Linked DNA regions of Homo sapiens: region 1 is linked to region 2. The links are contacts of gene promoters, found by promoter capture Hi-C in human tissues and cell types (Jung and others, 2019). All regions are on one chromosome and are shown on one strand. The core of a region is centred on a gene start or on the middle of the fragment in contact, and the rest is flanking DNA. Distances in the headings are between cores, read along the strand shown. Region 1 overlaps CNIH2 (cornichon family AMPA receptor auxiliary protein 2). Region 2 holds the start of EIF1AD (eukaryotic translation initiation factor 1A domain containing).

Region 1 (7,431 bases), core at 1-2,500, 280 kb before region 2:
GAAGCCAAGCTGATGGCATCTCTCTGGCACTTGGCAGCGATGGCCTTCATTACTTACGTGCTCCTGGCTGGGATGGCACTGGGCATTCAGAAAAGGTCAGTGCCAAGCCCCTCCCTTACCCTCCCCTCCCTGTGAGCTCTTCTCCCAACCTCCCTAGGGCATATGTGGTGGTCCCCAGCTCACCCTCTGTTGCCCCAGTCTCTCTTCCTCACCCCTGCCTCAGGATGCCTGGCTCTGAGCCACCCCTGCTTTGGCGCAGGTTCTCCCCGGAGGTGCTGGGCCTGTGTGCAAGCACAGCGCTGGTGTGGGTGGTGATGGAGGTGCTGGCCCTGCTCCTGGGCCTCTACCTGGCCACCGTGCGCAGTGACCTGAGCACCTTTCACCTGCTGGCCTACAGTGGCTACAAATACGTGGGGTGAGCACTTGTGGGCCAGGGGGAGGTGGCCTTGGATCTGGGCCTGCATAGCTGTAGCCTCGAACTGTGACCCTGGACATGTCTCGGCCCCTAGTGACCTCTAGCACTGCTCTGTTAAGAGGGAGCAGCTGTCTCCAGCAGTCTCCTGAGGATCTGCGTGCCATGCAGAGGTTGGGGAGGTGTTGAGAGTCACTCTGCGAGTCTTGGGGAGAGAAGGGGGTCTCAGATCCAGGTCCTGGGGCTGAGTCCTGGGCCTTCCATATCCCTTTGGGGTCTGGGTCCCTGTGGGGACAGATTGAGAGTAAAAGGTGCTGTGGGAGGTGGGGTCTAGCTGGGCTCTGGGCGTTGGGGGTAGGGCCAATCTCAGGCCTAGACCCCTGGGGGTCACCAACCCTTTCCTCCTCCCACCCCCAGAATGATCCTCAGTGTGCTCACGGGGCTGCTGTTCGGCAGCGATGGCTACTACGTGGCGCTGGCCTGGACCTCATCGGCGCTCATGTACTTCATTGTGAGTCTGGTGCACCCCCCCATTCCCCTGCCTTCACTTGAGGGCAAACCTCCCCCTCCTGGCCAGGCTTCAGTTCTCCTTTCTTCCAGGTGCGCTCTTTGCGGACAGCAGCCCTGGGCCCCGACAGCATGGGGGGCCCCGTCCCCCGGCAGCGTCTCCAGCTCTACCTGACTCTGGGAGCTGCAGCCTTCCAGCCCCTCATCATATACTGGCTGACTTTCCACCTGGTCCGGTGACCCCCTGGCCCCAGATGGCACTGAGTTTTTCATTCATTGAAGATTTGATTTCCTTGACTTTGTCTGACCCTTGTTCCTGGGGCCTGATGGGGAGCTACAGATACCTCTGCGCCTCTGCATTGCCCAGGGGATCGGGCTTGGGGCCGTCTAGGAAGAAGGTGGACCCAGGGAGGGCTTCATGACTTTGGTGACCTTGATACTGCCTTGTAAGGGTTTCAGCAGCCTCAGCTGGGAAAGAGAAGATGGAAGGAGGCTGCTGAGGGGACCTGGAAGGCGTCTGATCCCTCTGGGGGGCTCCAGCAGGGTCTGTGGGCTAGTGGGGTGAGACAAGCCAGGCTGGGGATTCAGCTTAGGGCTGCCCCCTATACAGTCCCTGTAATCGGCCCCCATCTCCTCTTCAAGCTTTCCAGGAGCAGAACCGGGGCCCACATATTTGCAGTAGTTTATTCATATTTTGTCACAAATGGCCGGGGAGGGGGTGCCGGACTCCTCCAGGCGACATAGAAAATAGGTCCAAGAGACAAGGTGGGCTGAGGTTGGGGCAGATGGAGACAGGGCTGGAGAAAGAGCCTGGGGGAGAGGGGAGGGCAGACTAGGGGTGGGGCTGCCCCCCTGCTGAGCCTGCTCATTCCCGGTGCGGGTACCCCCCCACCTGCAGGGGGAGCCTCAGGGTGGGGGTGGAGGGGGATGGCCCAGAATTTCCAGGGTCAAGCTCTGCCCCTTGGCAGGGCCCAAGTTTCCCCCGAAATGGACAAGGCCGGAGGTCCTGCCCCTTCCAGGAATGACTGCCATGCCCACAGGCTGGCAGAGGAGCCCCTGCCCCTGTTTAGAGCTCTGCCCAGCCGCTCTAGTCCAAGGGGGAGGGCTCTGAAGGCGGGGTGGGGGGGGTTCCCCGCAGCAGCAGTTTGGGGGTTGGAGAGGCTGGGGGCACCAGTGCCCCCTCCCTCCCCAGGGCTGAGGCCTCTGCGGCCAAGGGGCAGGGCTGGGGGTGCACAGGCGTCCGGTCCGTTCTGGGCTCGCTCCCTGGCCGGCTTCCCCCTTAGAAACTCACCAACGTATAAACCATACTGTAGGAAGATGAGCCAGTGAGCCTAGCCCTGCACACACACAGCCACCCAGATGCCCACCTGGTCACACCCTGGGCTGCCCTCAGTCCTCAGGGGCAAAAGGCAGGAACTTGGGATTGGAAGCGTGATGCTGGGACATCCCTTCCCTGAGTTCTGACTGCTGTGGGCAAGGCCTCACCTGTACAGGTAATAGAAGAAGGAGAGCAGGTAGAAGGCAAGTTTGCACCAGGACTCCTTCTGGCAGTAGTTGAGAATGTCAGCATTCATGATGGAGACCGCATCATACATGACCTCAGAGCCATCTGCAGGACGGTGGAAGTACCTGGGGCAGACAGGGGCCTGAGTGTCTGCCATCAGGACTCCCACCCCCATCCTGCCCCTGTTCCCCATCTCAGCCTCCCCAAGGCAGCTGCTACCCTCACCTCCAGAGGTGGTAGAAGAGGAGGGGGATGTTGAGGCCCAGGGTCACCCACTCTGCTGCACACAGAAACATCAGACAGAAGAGGCCGTGGATGGAGTATTCTGGGACCACCAGCTGGGGGAGTGAGGGTGAGAGGTCAGCGGCCTGGTGCTATGACAGACCAGCCTTCAAGGGGACAGAGAGGAGCTGGGGTTTGGGAGGTGCCCACCCACCGTGACCTCTGGGGATTAAAAGGCCTCTGGCTTCCCACTCCCTCCCAAGTAGAGTGGATCAAACAGGCCCAAAGCAGGGGAAGGCCTGGTTCTGGGCCACAGACAGTGGGGGCAGCGCTGGGCTAGGAGCCTCCTGCCCCCAGCCCTGACACTGACCTTCCTCAGGAGGCAGCAGATGCGTTCGATGTTTTTTAAACGCTCGCGCTGTTGGGGGAAGGAAAAGGCCGCGATGGGGTGGCGGAGAAGCAGGTACTGGAGCAGCTCCCACCGCTCCACATGTGGCCGCCAGGGGGCGCCAGAGCGATCTCTGCGGCACTGTCGGCACGGCCGGGAAGCAGCCGCGCCGTCCCCATGGCGACCGTCACCATGGAAGGGCCTTCACCCGCGTCTCCATGGCAACGGCCCAGAGCCTGGCAACCACCGCCCCGCCAAGAGGAACTCAGCCCTGAGCCCGCGCCAGGTGTTTGCTGGGGGCGGAGACAGAGAGGAAGGGGGCATGGCCGTAGGCCCCCCACCCCACCCCCGTCTTCCCGTCTCCCACCCCCAGCCCACGACAGATGGAAAGACAGACGGACGGACACACCTCGGCACAGCACATGTATCACTTACTGCCCGCGCAGGGTTCCCCTGGTCGATGGGGTTCTTGAAGTCGGTCCGCAGCTCATCAAAGGCTATGATCTGGGGGAGGGGCGTGTGCCCGTCAGGGTTGGGGCAGCAGCTTATGGCCTTCCCCCAAGTCCTTCTGTGGGATAGTTTACTGAAGAGGACCAGCCAGGTGGAGCTTGTTGCAAAGGTGGAGAAACCGAGGTCCAGGGAGGAGCAGGGCCTGGTCCAAGGTCATTACAACAGTCCAGAAGGGAACCCTAGCGTCTGGATGCCCAGTTCAGGCCCATGTCCACTACACCCCCTTCCAAAACATCCCAAGACATGGCTTCGTGTCTGCCCTGCCAAGTCTCAGGCCCTGTGCTGAGCACTGGGGCTCCAGAGGCCTGGGATGCAGCCCCTGCCCAGGAGGAACCCAGGCCCAGAGGGATGATCACTCTGCCTTCCAGGTGATCAGGGTTTGGGGTACAGGGAGGACCTGGAGTGGGCGCTTAACCCTGTGTGGGGGGTGAGGGAGTTCAGGCTGGACTCGGAGTAGGTGTTGGTGAGCAAATGGGGGAAATGCAGTCCAAGCAGTAGAAGGTGCAATGGCAGAGGGGTGAAAGGTCAGGAGACATTCAGGAGGCTGCGGGTTTCATGGGGCTGGCGTGACAGCGCAGCGAGCAGGAAGAAAAGAGAGAGTGGTGGAAGAGGAGCTGGAGAATTCAGCAGAGCCAGACATGGGCGCCCTGTGAGGCCAGAGCAGGAGTTTGGACTTACTTTAACACAAAAATTTTGGGGGGAGGCATTGAAGAGTACACAGCAGCAGAGTGGGGTGGTCAGGTCCATGTCTTAGGATTGGTCCATGTCTCAGGATTGGTGGGGCAGGAAATCCGAGCTCACTGACAGTCACAGCTGAGATCTAAGTGGTGCTTCTCCTGGCCGGTATGTGGATTCACTCATTTAATTCTTAACAACCTTATGACTTAGGTACTAGTTTTATTTTCATGTCTGTTTTGCAGATGAGGAAGCTGAGGCAGGTTAAGTGACTTGTCCAGGGCCACACGGCTGGTTAGTGGATTCTAACCCAGTGTGACTCCAGAGTTAAAATTCCTAACCACTGTGTCATACTCAGGCCAGACCAGCAAGGGGACGGTTTGGAGGGTTAGGGGCAGGGCTGATGGTGGTCTGAGTGAGGAGAGTTGTAGTGGAGACGGAAGGCGTGCATGGGATTCTACAGCTCTTTAGGAGCCAGACTCCAGAGGGTTCAAATGGCTGAGAAGTGAAGGCAGAAATCTAAGGTGGCTTCAGGTGTTGGGGTGTCTGGCAGACGGCAGTGTCCTCACGGGTGGAAACTCTCCAGGGGAGCAAGTGTTTGAGGGGATGATGGGATGGGAAGGAGCTGACAGGTGACTTGGGGGAAATGGGCTGGCAGAGGAGCCTGCTGGGGTCCCCTCCTGTCGGCTCCAGCCCTAGGATGAGGCAGCAGGCCCACCACCCCCAGGCATCCCAGGCCCCAGACGGCTCAGAGAGAAAGAACATGGGCTTCCTGGAGGGAGCTGAGGCCATCTGGATCATCCCCCCTCCCCGCCCAGCTCCCCATTGACTCTGGGCAGCGCCACTTGGCACGCACAGCAACAGGGTCCACAGGGAGCAGAAGGGTGCCGTCTGTACCCCAGAGCTGGCACCACCAGCAGGCGGCGGGCGTCACCCCTCCCACCCCCCAGGCTGCCTGGCGCTGACTCAGCCCCCCGGAACAAACAATCCCCCATGGTGACAGCTGACACGCGTCACTCACCGCCAGGGTTGCCTAGGAACCACTGGGGCCTGGGCTGAGGGTCTGGAGTGGGATCTGGGGTCCCGCCCTGTTAAGAGTCTAGTTCTTAGCAGCTGTGGACTGAGGACCACGCCTCCTATCCCCTACCACCCAGCAGGCCGCACTAGGCACTCTGATGTGCACAGGTCCACTTTGCCGGCGAGGAACCAGACTTGGGACAAATGACTTGCTAAGATTGTCCAGCTAAATGGCTGAGTGGACAGAGTACCTCACACAGGTGCTCAATCAATATCTGTTGAATGAACAAAGACATTTCTTCAAAGCTTGGGCCTTTCCTCCCAGCCTGGGCACTCCACAAGGGCAAAGTCTGGGTTTTATTCATCCTTGACCCCCTCAAAGCCACCCAGAGCCTGATCTTTGGGAAGCATCAATGCAGGCGTGGTGGATAAACTGCTGAGGATCCCCTGAGGACAGGGACCCCACAGGGGCTGTGGGAAGGCCCTGGGTGGGGAAGGCCCCAAAAAGAGGCTTCTTGAATTCCAGGAGCCCTTCTCCCAGGAGCTGGTCAGCTCTGCATTCCCTAGCCTGTGGCCCCCAGCTCCCTCCAGTCCTTAGAACCCTAGCCCTCCTGCCCCTACCCCACAGAAAGAAAAATAGAGTAACTCGGGGTGCGGGGGAGAGGGGGAAAGACAAAGCAACCAAGACCCAGAGAGAGAGCAGAGCCAGGCCAAGGAGTGACAGGGCTGGAGCTGGGGTGTGTGCTGAGGTGCCTTTGGGGGCTCACTCTTCACACAGTAGGGGTTCAGTCTATGGATTCCCGATGTCAAAGAGCAAGGTGGCAGGGGATGGCAAAGGGAGCGCAGGGGGAACCATGGAGCAGGCGGCAGGTCCCAGGAAGAGAAAGGAGAGAGGAAGTGGAGAGCCCGGGAAAGAAGCAGGTGAGGCACCGGGAGGAAGGAGGGAAGGGCTATGGGAAATGGGATTGAGGGAGGGATAAGAGGACCCCTGAAAGGGAATGACAATCAGGGAGGTGTGCGCGGGAGGTGTGAGCAGAGGATGCTGAGCTGAGCCAGCCAGGGCCGAGCTGGGCAGGCTGTTACAGAAACAGGCACGGGGTTTGGGTGGGGGTGGGGACGGAGGGCAGTAAAGTGGGGCCAGGGGCCCCCAACAACCAGCTGGAGGCTGATTGATAGTTCTGTAGTGAGGGGACGGGAGCCAGGCAGAGGAGGCCCTGGAGGAGAGGAGCGGGAGGGGAGGAGGAGGGAGCCTGGGGGAAGCGATGGGTCGGATGCAGGATGAGGAATGGACATTTTGAAGAACCAGGTGTGAGGCTAGGCCAGGGCGAGGGACAGACCAAGGGGTATGTGAGAGACAAAGGGGAAGGGGGACAGGAAGAGGAGGGAAGCTGGAAAATGGAGAGGAAACCTGGGGGGCTGGGAAGCCCCCAACAGGAGGGGTAGGGAAACCCAAGGTGAGCCGGTGGTGGGGGCTAGGTCTCTGGGGGCTGATGAGAGCCAACTGCTGCTTGGTCAGGGAGGGGGCTGGGAAGGCAAAGGGTTAATGGACTCTGAGATCTGTGGGTCCTGTAAACAGATGCAGTTGCCATAGCAACCAGCTCCATCACTCTGGCTGGAAAAACCCACAAAGGCGGGGGGGGGGGGGCAGCAGACAGACAAACTGCCCGACGGACTAATGGAGGCGGCTGGATGGTGGTGGGGGGGGACATAGAAGATAAAGCAACAAAAATGCCAGAATTCCACCCCCCACCTCACGGGCTGCATGGGAGCAGAGGACGAGGGCAGAGGAGGGGGTCAGAGACCGACTGACATACACACAGACAGGCGGGGGCGGCGGAGGAAGGGGGGCCCCGGGAAGAAAGCCGACCACGGGGGGTGTTAATGGGGGCGAAGCCGACAAGCCGACGGCTGGGGGATAGCAAGTTTCCCCTGGGCTCTGAGACCACCCGCCCTGGGTCCCTCCAGCTCCGCGTGGCCCCTGCCCCCCACCCCGCCCCCAGCCCCAGCCCCAGCCCGGCCTTACGTGCCAGATGACAAAGAAGATGAGGGAGGCGCACAGCACCAGGGTGAGCATGTAGCAGAACGCGGCGAAGGTGAACGCCATGGCCCCCGCGCCGGGCGGCGGCCCGGGGGGCGCCAGCGCGGGGCCCGGGCGCAAGGGGACGCCCCCCGGCCCGCGCTTAGGGCCGGCCGGGC
Region 2 (7,553 bases), core at 5,035-7,534:
CACCCACTCCACCTGCCTCTGCTTTGTGCTGATGCAAAGGACTTTTTTTGCAGTACAACCTAGCAATTTCTGAGCACTTTTCACCCACTGATTCTCACAAGCACCCTGAGGGAGTACACATTATCCTCACTTTGCAGATGAAGAAGTTAATCAGAGAGGTCGGGACACTTGTCTAAGGTCACACAGCTAGAAGTGGTATCTTGGTAAGAAAAGGTGGGGAGGATTAACAATGGTAAGAACTCTTGCTGTGTGCCAGGCCTTGCGCCAGGGATTCAATATATGTTCTTTCATTCCCATAGCAGCTCTGCACAGACAATGACTATTATCTCTTCCTACAAGGAGGAAATGGGAGATCAAAGGGGAAAGGTTAGTGGTGGGTCCCGGTGCATGAGTCCTGGGCTGCTCCACAGGGGTTTGAGGTCTGCTGTGCATGGTGTAGGGGTTGTTTCTTGCAGATGGGGTGTCCCTGAGCAGACTTTCCCAGGGCCTGACTCCATCCCGTCTGGACCACTCTGGCTTCCAGGAGGTTTGCGCCAAGCGTGAGCTTGAGGTCGGTCAAATGTACTGGCCACAGGGCAGAGCCTCCAGTTTTGCAGTGGCCCAGACATCCCACCCCAGGTTGTCCACAGCACCCCTCTCTTGCCCCTGGCCTGATGGGTGGAGATGACCAGGGCAGGTTCTTGACATCTCCTTCCCTCTGGGATCAGGCTCTCCAAGGCTTCGATGCTTCCCCCAGAACCCTCTTCCTTGAACCTTCAGTTGGGCAGAGGATATTGCCCTCCCCCCAGGGCTCTGTAGCCCCATATCCTGGAAAGGAGATCTTTCAGCAAGGAAACCTGTAATCCAACAGGGATTAAAGCTCCCCTCTGGGGAGGAGCGCTCCTAAGCGCTGCTGATTCACTGGTTGAATCTTCACAACCCTGTTATCAGCTGGCAGAGGAGGCTGTAGCTCAGGGGAGTGAAGCAACTTGCTCCAGATCGCATGGGGAGCAAAGCCCCAGAATCGGGCCTGGCTGGCTCTTCAAGGCTGCCACCAGTCAAGGTTGGGAGTGACAGGAAAGAGCCCTGGTCCCCACAGGGAGGGGCCAGCCTGGAAAGGGATCAACAGTCACAAGCACCTGCTGGGAGCCTTCCATGCTCAGCAGGCTGCCGGGGGCAGGGCTTGTGGTGGTCCAGGTAGCCTCCCCCTACTTCCTTTCTGGGGGCAGCAGGAGCCCTTCAGCACCCCAGAGTGCATGGGCTGGGTTCACACGAAGTTCTAGGCTGGCTCTGAGCACTCATGACTAGACCAGCTGAGGGGGTCAAGCTCTGGCTGGGTGTGATGGGGGGATGGGGTCAGTATTTGCTGATTTCTGGGCCCACCTATGTCCCAGGCTAGTGGGTGGCCAGGCATGTCCTCTTGGACACCACGGGCTGACACTGAGACAACCTGACTCATACCCCTCACCAGCCAGGTCTGCTTTCTGCGCCAGCATTCCAAGCCGTGGTCCCTTTGTCCTGCTGGCTGAGTCGGGCTGGATCTGAGAGGCCACACTGTCACAAGGTACATTCTAGATGCCCTTTGTCTACTGCTGTCCCAGGACAGAGCCAAGAACTTGTGTGGGATGCAATATGGAGTCCTGATAAAGGGTTTGTGGCCTGCCACCTGGTATATGCACTGCCTGTGCCCCAAGGGAGAGGTGAGAAGGCAGGTTCCAGTCCCTTCTATGGCAAAGCCTGTGGGTGAGCCGGGAAAGGCAGACAACAAGGAAATAAAGCAGACAGCATGAGCCGCAGGCTTCCAGCAGGGTCCCAGTGCCACCAGGCGAGGCCAAACCAGGAGGCCAGCGTGGGCAGGAGCCCAGGGAAGGGCTTCATGGAGGAGGAGTCTCCATGACCTCACAGAGCACCAGCAACAAGCTGGCAGCATCAGGACTGAGGTGTGGTGAGGCCGGAGCCCTGCAAAGCCCCCACCTAAGCACACAAGGCCTGCGACAGCATCATAGCATGAGGGTCAAGGCTGAGGGGACTTAGCCGGGAAGACATCAGAAACAGTCTGAAACTCAAGAGAGAGCCCTCGTGACCACCTCAGCCGGGACTCAGACCAGCAGCCTCCCAGGAAGCGGCTTGAAGCACAAGCTGGGCCCTGCTGCAGTCACCTGGTGTCCCTTTCAAGCTGGGCCACTCGCACTTTCCAGTCCCAGCCTTGCACAGAACTCTCATCCCTACAAATAACAATTTAGTTTCTGACCTTTCACTCAATCGTTCCAGCCTCAGGTCTTTATTTTTGGTTTTCCTGTTATCTTTCTATTGTTGAGATGTAGCGAATACACTGAAAAGGGCGCAGAACATACACTTTTGGTCAATGCCTGTACCACCACCCCATAGGTCAGAAACACAGGTCAGGGTAGGCCAAGCCTACCCTTAAGCCCTTCCACACCCTCCCCCAAAGATAATCCCTGTAGACTTTTTCCTTTACTATTTACCATAATCATTTCCTTTGTTTTCCTTCTAGTTTTACCATCTATGTAGGAATTCCTAAGAATTTGTTTGTCTTCATTTGCTATTGAGATTCGTGTTGTACACAACTATCATTTGTTCATTTTTACCTCCGTCCAGTGTCCGGTGGCATGAGTGCCTATTTATCTACTCTAGTATTGACAGCCGCTAGCGTTGCTCCCAACAATGCAGCTGCAAACTCATCTAGGTCCTGCTGCAGGTGTTCGGGACTTTCTTCAAGGCACAGTCCTGAGAGTGGAACTGCTTGGTCACAGGGCGTGTCAGTTTTACTAAATAACACCCAACTGTCTTCCCAAATTGTTTAGACCAATTTATACTCCCACCAGCTAGGTATCAGTTCCTGTTGCTTCATTATCTCATCAATACTTGGTATTGTCCAACTTAAAAGTGTTTGCCAGTCAGGTGGGTGTTAATGGCATGTGATGTCTTATTACTAGCAATATGGAGCACCTTTCCTGTGCTTATTTACTGGGAGGGAACCCTCTTCTGTGGCCGTCTTAGATCTTTTACCCATTTTTCTGTTGTTTTTTTTTTTTTTTGAGACAAAGTTTCATTCTGGTCACCCTGGCTGGAGTGCAATGGCCGTGATCTCGGCTCACTGCAACCTCTGCCTCCCAAGTTCGATTCTCCTGCCTTAGTCTCCTGAGTAGCTGGGATTATAGGCGTGCACCACCACACCCGGCTAATTTTTGTATTTTTGGTAGAGATGGGGTCTCACCATGTTGGCCAGGCTGGTCTTGAACTCCTGACCTCAGGTGATCCACCCACCTCGGCCTCTGAAAGTGCTGGGATTACAAACGTGAGCCATTGCGCCCAGCCAGTCCGCTTTTTTCTTGATTGCAATTCTGTATGTGCTATGGAAATAGTCCTTTGTTGTTTATACTGCTGCAAATATCCTTTCCCTACAACCACCTCATTTTCCAAGTGGAGAAACTGAGGCTCAGAGAGGCTAAGCCACATGACCAAGGAACACATGGCCGGGTCCCTGGGTTTCCAAGCTAGTTTGAGTTCCAGTCTGGCTACTTCCCAGGAGCAAGTCCATGGGCAAATTAGCCTCTCTGAGCCTCAAATTTCCTCACCTGTAAAGGAGAAAATATTTATTACTGTGAAAGAAAAAAATGTTTGCAAAGATTTTAGCTTCAAGCCTGGTTCATACTAAGTGTTCAAGAAATAATAGGGCTGGCCGGGTATGGTGGCTCACACCTATAGTCACAGCGCTTTGGGAGGCTTAAGGATCGCTTAAGGCCAGCATGGGCAACAGAGCAGGGCCCTGTCCCTATTAAGTTAAAAAGTAAACAAAAAGAACAGGACTAAAATGTACTGAGGTGTACTCCCCTCACATCCTTCCAGCTGTGATGCCTGTGCTCCTTCTCCTCCCTAAGAGATCATGGAAGATGGCAAGCACCCTGCCCACCCTTACAGAGGCCGGGAGAGCAGATGATGACTGGCAGGTGAACTCTCACCCACATCCGGCCCACCCTGTCTGGTACCTCTGACTCCCACTGACTTTTCCACCAGGTGCTGCCTAGCCCAGCTGTTGACTTAACTGACATCTGGAGCACAGTCCATCTGGCTCCCAGGAAAAGATCCACCCACACCCTCTCCCACATCACTCGGGGATTGAGACAAAAGTCACCTGCCTGAGGCCTACATGGCTAGGGTGGCTGCCCTCTGGGAGTGGAAGGGAAGCTGCCAGTTTCGGTCTCTACTGATAAGGAGTGAGGGAAACATGGTCAGTCCCTGAAGGAGAGGCAACTCCCAGCCCACTTGCTTTTCAGTGCACAAAGCCCAGTCATGAAAGCCACTGACTTTATTGATCTAAAAAACTTTACAAGGACAGTGACTGTTCTGCCAAAAAAGGAGCCAAATGGTATCAAACGGATTGAAAGTGAGGGTGGGGGTGAGGGATGGGGCCGGGAATCCATTCAGGAAAGCTGGTAACTGTCACCAGGGAACTGGCAAGGGAAAAAGGACGGGGGAGGCATGCAAGAGCGAGAATCCAAAAAAAAGTTGAAATGGTTAGGGGAGAAAACTCCCAAAAGACCCCGGAGTACGTCGGAGGTGAGTACGACAATAGCAATCTTTTCCTTCGTAGAGGACAGGGGAGGAGTCCCTACTCGGCTGCAAACTCTGGATGAGGGCTGGGGATTGAGAGCTTCCCAGAGAGCATCACAAGAAGGCGTCGCACCACTCTCGAAGGCATCCGAAGCAGTCCCGGGACTGCTTGGCGTTGGCGCCACAAGTGTCTTTCAGCCATTCCCGGAAGAGGTCTTCATCTTTCTTTAGCACCAGAAACTGGCCAAGGACAACATAGGCCTGCAAAACAGGGAAAAGGAAGGAGCGTGCTGCTCAGTGCTCAGTGAGAGATAAGAGCAAGACAGCCATTCCTGTGCCATTCAGAGCACACAAGCCCAGGAAGCAGCGCGGGTTTTGCCCCCCTCTCCTCTCCACCAGGTGCCCAGGCTCTGGCAGCCTCTTCAGATTATACCTTACTGTCCATCCCCCAGCAGATGGAATCACTTCCCTTCCACCCCCCGCTTGCACTAGGTACACGCAGCCACCCCACACCTTGTCAAAACCCCTTTCCTCCAGCTTCTTGCCCAGGACTTCACCAATCCCAGCCAGGCTCCCCACTGGCTTCTCCCCCATGGGCTCTGCCACGAAGTCTCGGTGCTTTTGGGAGGTTGTCATCTTGATCAGGCTTAATCTAGGAATCCCAAAAAAAAGGCAGATTAGGGCTGAAGACCTGGAACTTCTAAGGGCCCACGAGCAATCTCATAGTAAGAGGAAGCCAAGCCAGGGGTTACAGTGGCTTGCTCGATCCCCCTCATCCTGAAAGGAGAAAACAGTTCCAGGGAGACTCTTCCCTACTATTTTTAAGAGGAGTTTCTTCCTGCAGGACCTGGATTTTGATCTTGCCCCAGAGGAAAAACGATCCTGCCTAACAGGTGGCGCAAGCGGGGCAGTGGAAAGATGCCCAGAGTCCGTAGCCAGGGCTGCGCGGAAGCTATCACTCCCTCTGTGACCTTGGCTGAACCAAGACGACACTGCCTGCCTGGAACGGCCACTTGGCGTGGAAAGCTAACCAAAGGGTCTCTCTACCTACAGGGCGAAGCGCACACCTAGCGCTGCGCACACCCGCTCCCCGCCCGCGGGGTTCACGCCGCGCCCCAGCTCCGCCCCCACCGCGCGCCGCTGCGGCCCGCCCCTTCCCGCGGCCCGGCTCCCACGCGCTGCACCCCGCCCCCTCCCCGCAGCGCGGCCAAGCTCTCCCCCAGGGCCCGCCACAGCGCCTGCGACCCCTCTCCTCCCCTTCTCCCCGCAACCCCTCTGGCCTCCAATCAGGGCCCTGCTCCGCGGCTGGCGCTCACCCGCAACTTCAGTTCCCGTAACGGTTCCTCCCGCCACCCGGCCGCTCCTGCGGATACCTCAAGCCACTAGAACTTTCTTCCACTTCCGCTTCCGGGTCGCTTCAAGAGCCGCCTTTAAAAAAGAAACATTCCACGTTGGGCACTTCTAGCCAGTTAGAGCTATAGAGTTGAGGCGCCCCGGACCTCGACGGCGTCCTTAGTAGGCGCTCCTTTCCGGTCCTTCGCGGGAAGCCCTGCCTTCTAAGGTCTCGCTTCTCGCGCAGTTCTGAGGGAGATAGGCCTCCAGGGAGAGGACTTCCTTTCTCTGCTGCCCGGACCCGGAACTCAAGGACTTAGGCTTGACGGACCTGGCGTGGGGAAGAGTTAGAAGACGGACAAGGGAGGGGACGGGAGGCCTCCGAGACAGCGCCGGAAGTACGGTTTTCGGAGGGATCAGACTCAGACTCACGTCGCACTCCTCGCAGTTGGACTGGTGGGAACTGGGAACACTGGAGACCTGATTTCTAACTGACGCTACCGTCGCGGCCGCCGGCAAGTTCCTTTACTGTGTTTTCTTGGTTCAGCCTTGAAGTGAGTCGTGGACGATCCTCTCTCAGCGTCCAGCCTAGACGGCGGTGTTGCTCCGGCAGCGTTCCTGGGAGCCGAGGGCCAGAGACTAAGTGTGGGTGTTTCTCTGAGGGTCTTTTCTCCGGGATAGACAGGGAGGAGGAAGGAGGACAGCAACTAGAGACGACAGTGTTTCTTTCGGAAACCATCAGTCTTAAGGGTACTGGCCTTCGTCTTCTAAGTACGCAAGTCAGAAATATGCAAATGTCGCAGACAAGCCTGCTCACCTCAACCTTTAATTAACTAGTTCCTGGCTTGAACCATCACGGTGGCCACCTAGTTTGTCTCCGGCTGTAGTGTGTTGCCAGACTGAACTTCTCTGTTGTGTGACTATGCTAGACTTGGGGTGTACAAGCGTGTTGAGAAAGATACGGTTTATTTCAAACTCCTTCCAGAGAGGTTGCCAGGATGACTTCTCTGGAGCATGCGTATAGTTTTATATTACACTAGTACTTAAGATTATAGGAGTTACTTTTTTTTTTTTTTTTTTTTTGAGACGGAGTCTTGCTCTGTCGCCCAGGCTGGAGTGCAGTGGCGCGATCTCGGCTCACTGCAAGCTCCGCCTCCCGGGTTCACGCCATTCTCCTGCCTCAGCCTCCCGGGTAGCTGGGACTACAGGCGCTCGTCATCACGCCCGGCTAATTTTTTGTATTTTTGTAGAGAGAGGGTTTCACCGTATTAGCCAGGATGGTCTCGATCTCCTGACATCGTGATCCGCCCACCTCGGCCTCCCAAAGTGCTGGGATTACAGGCGTGAGCCACCGCGCCCGGCCGGAGTTACTTTTACATGACATGCATTGTATTGTCCCATTCTGTTGTAGCAGGACGAGTCGCAGACAGAACTCCTCAGACACCAGATTAAAGAAGGAAGAGGTTTTTTTATTCGGCCGGGAGCGTCGGCAGACTCGTGTCTTAAGAGCCGAGCTCCCCGAAAAAGAAATTCCTAGCCCTTTTAAGGGCTTACAACTCTAAGGGGTCTACGTGAAAAAGTCATAATAGATCAAGTAAGCGTGAGAAACGTGACTGGGGGCTACATACATCAGCTAACAGAACAAAAAGTTTTACAGTGCTTTCTCA

Evidence for each region. Contacts are between HindIII fragments. The study calls those that stand out against the background at their distance.
Region 1: a fragment that was not itself captured here is called in contact with the fragment with the promoter of EIF1AD in region 2 in 1 of the 25 tissues and cell types used here (lymphoblastoid cells).

What each region holds. Positions count from the first base shown.
Region 1 is chr11:66,278,365-66,285,795 of GRCh38, reverse strand. CNIH2 (cornichon family AMPA receptor auxiliary protein 2) reads right to left here. Exons shown (of 6, transcript NM_182553.3): 1 at 7,259-7,431; 2 at 3,469-3,537; 3 at 3,016-3,063; 4 at 2,649-2,761; 5 at 2,405-2,548; 6 at 1,590-2,226. The coding sequence starts at 7,339. The coding sequence ends at 2,199. It overlaps YIF1A (Yip1 interacting factor homolog A, membrane trafficking protein), which reads left to right. Exons shown (of 8, transcript NM_020470.3): 5 at 38-95; 6 at 260-415; 7 at 830-923; 8 at 1,013-1,216. The coding sequence ends at 1,159. LOC107984340 (a long non-coding RNA gene) reads left to right here and starts at 7,271. Exons shown (of 2, transcript XR_001748274.1): 1 at 7,271-7,301. RefSeq lists an enhancer at 2,847-3,350. The HindIII fragment of the contact is 4,602 bases long and covers 1-3,551 here.
Region 2 is chr11:66,000,888-66,008,440 of GRCh38, reverse strand. It overlaps EIF1AD (eukaryotic translation initiation factor 1A domain containing), which reads left to right and starts at 6,284. Exons shown (of 6, transcript NM_001242481.2): 1 at 6,284-6,531. BANF1 (barrier to autointegration nuclear assembly factor 1) reads right to left here and starts at 5,938. Exons shown (of 3, transcript NM_003860.4): 1 at 5,871-5,938; 2 at 5,068-5,206; 3 at 4,292-4,815. The coding sequence starts at 5,190. The coding sequence ends at 4,669. RefSeq lists enhancers at 1-131, 4,403-5,209, 6,217-6,586 and silencers at 789-1,083, 5,577-5,916. The HindIII fragment of the contact is 11,764 bases long and covers 3,474-7,553 here.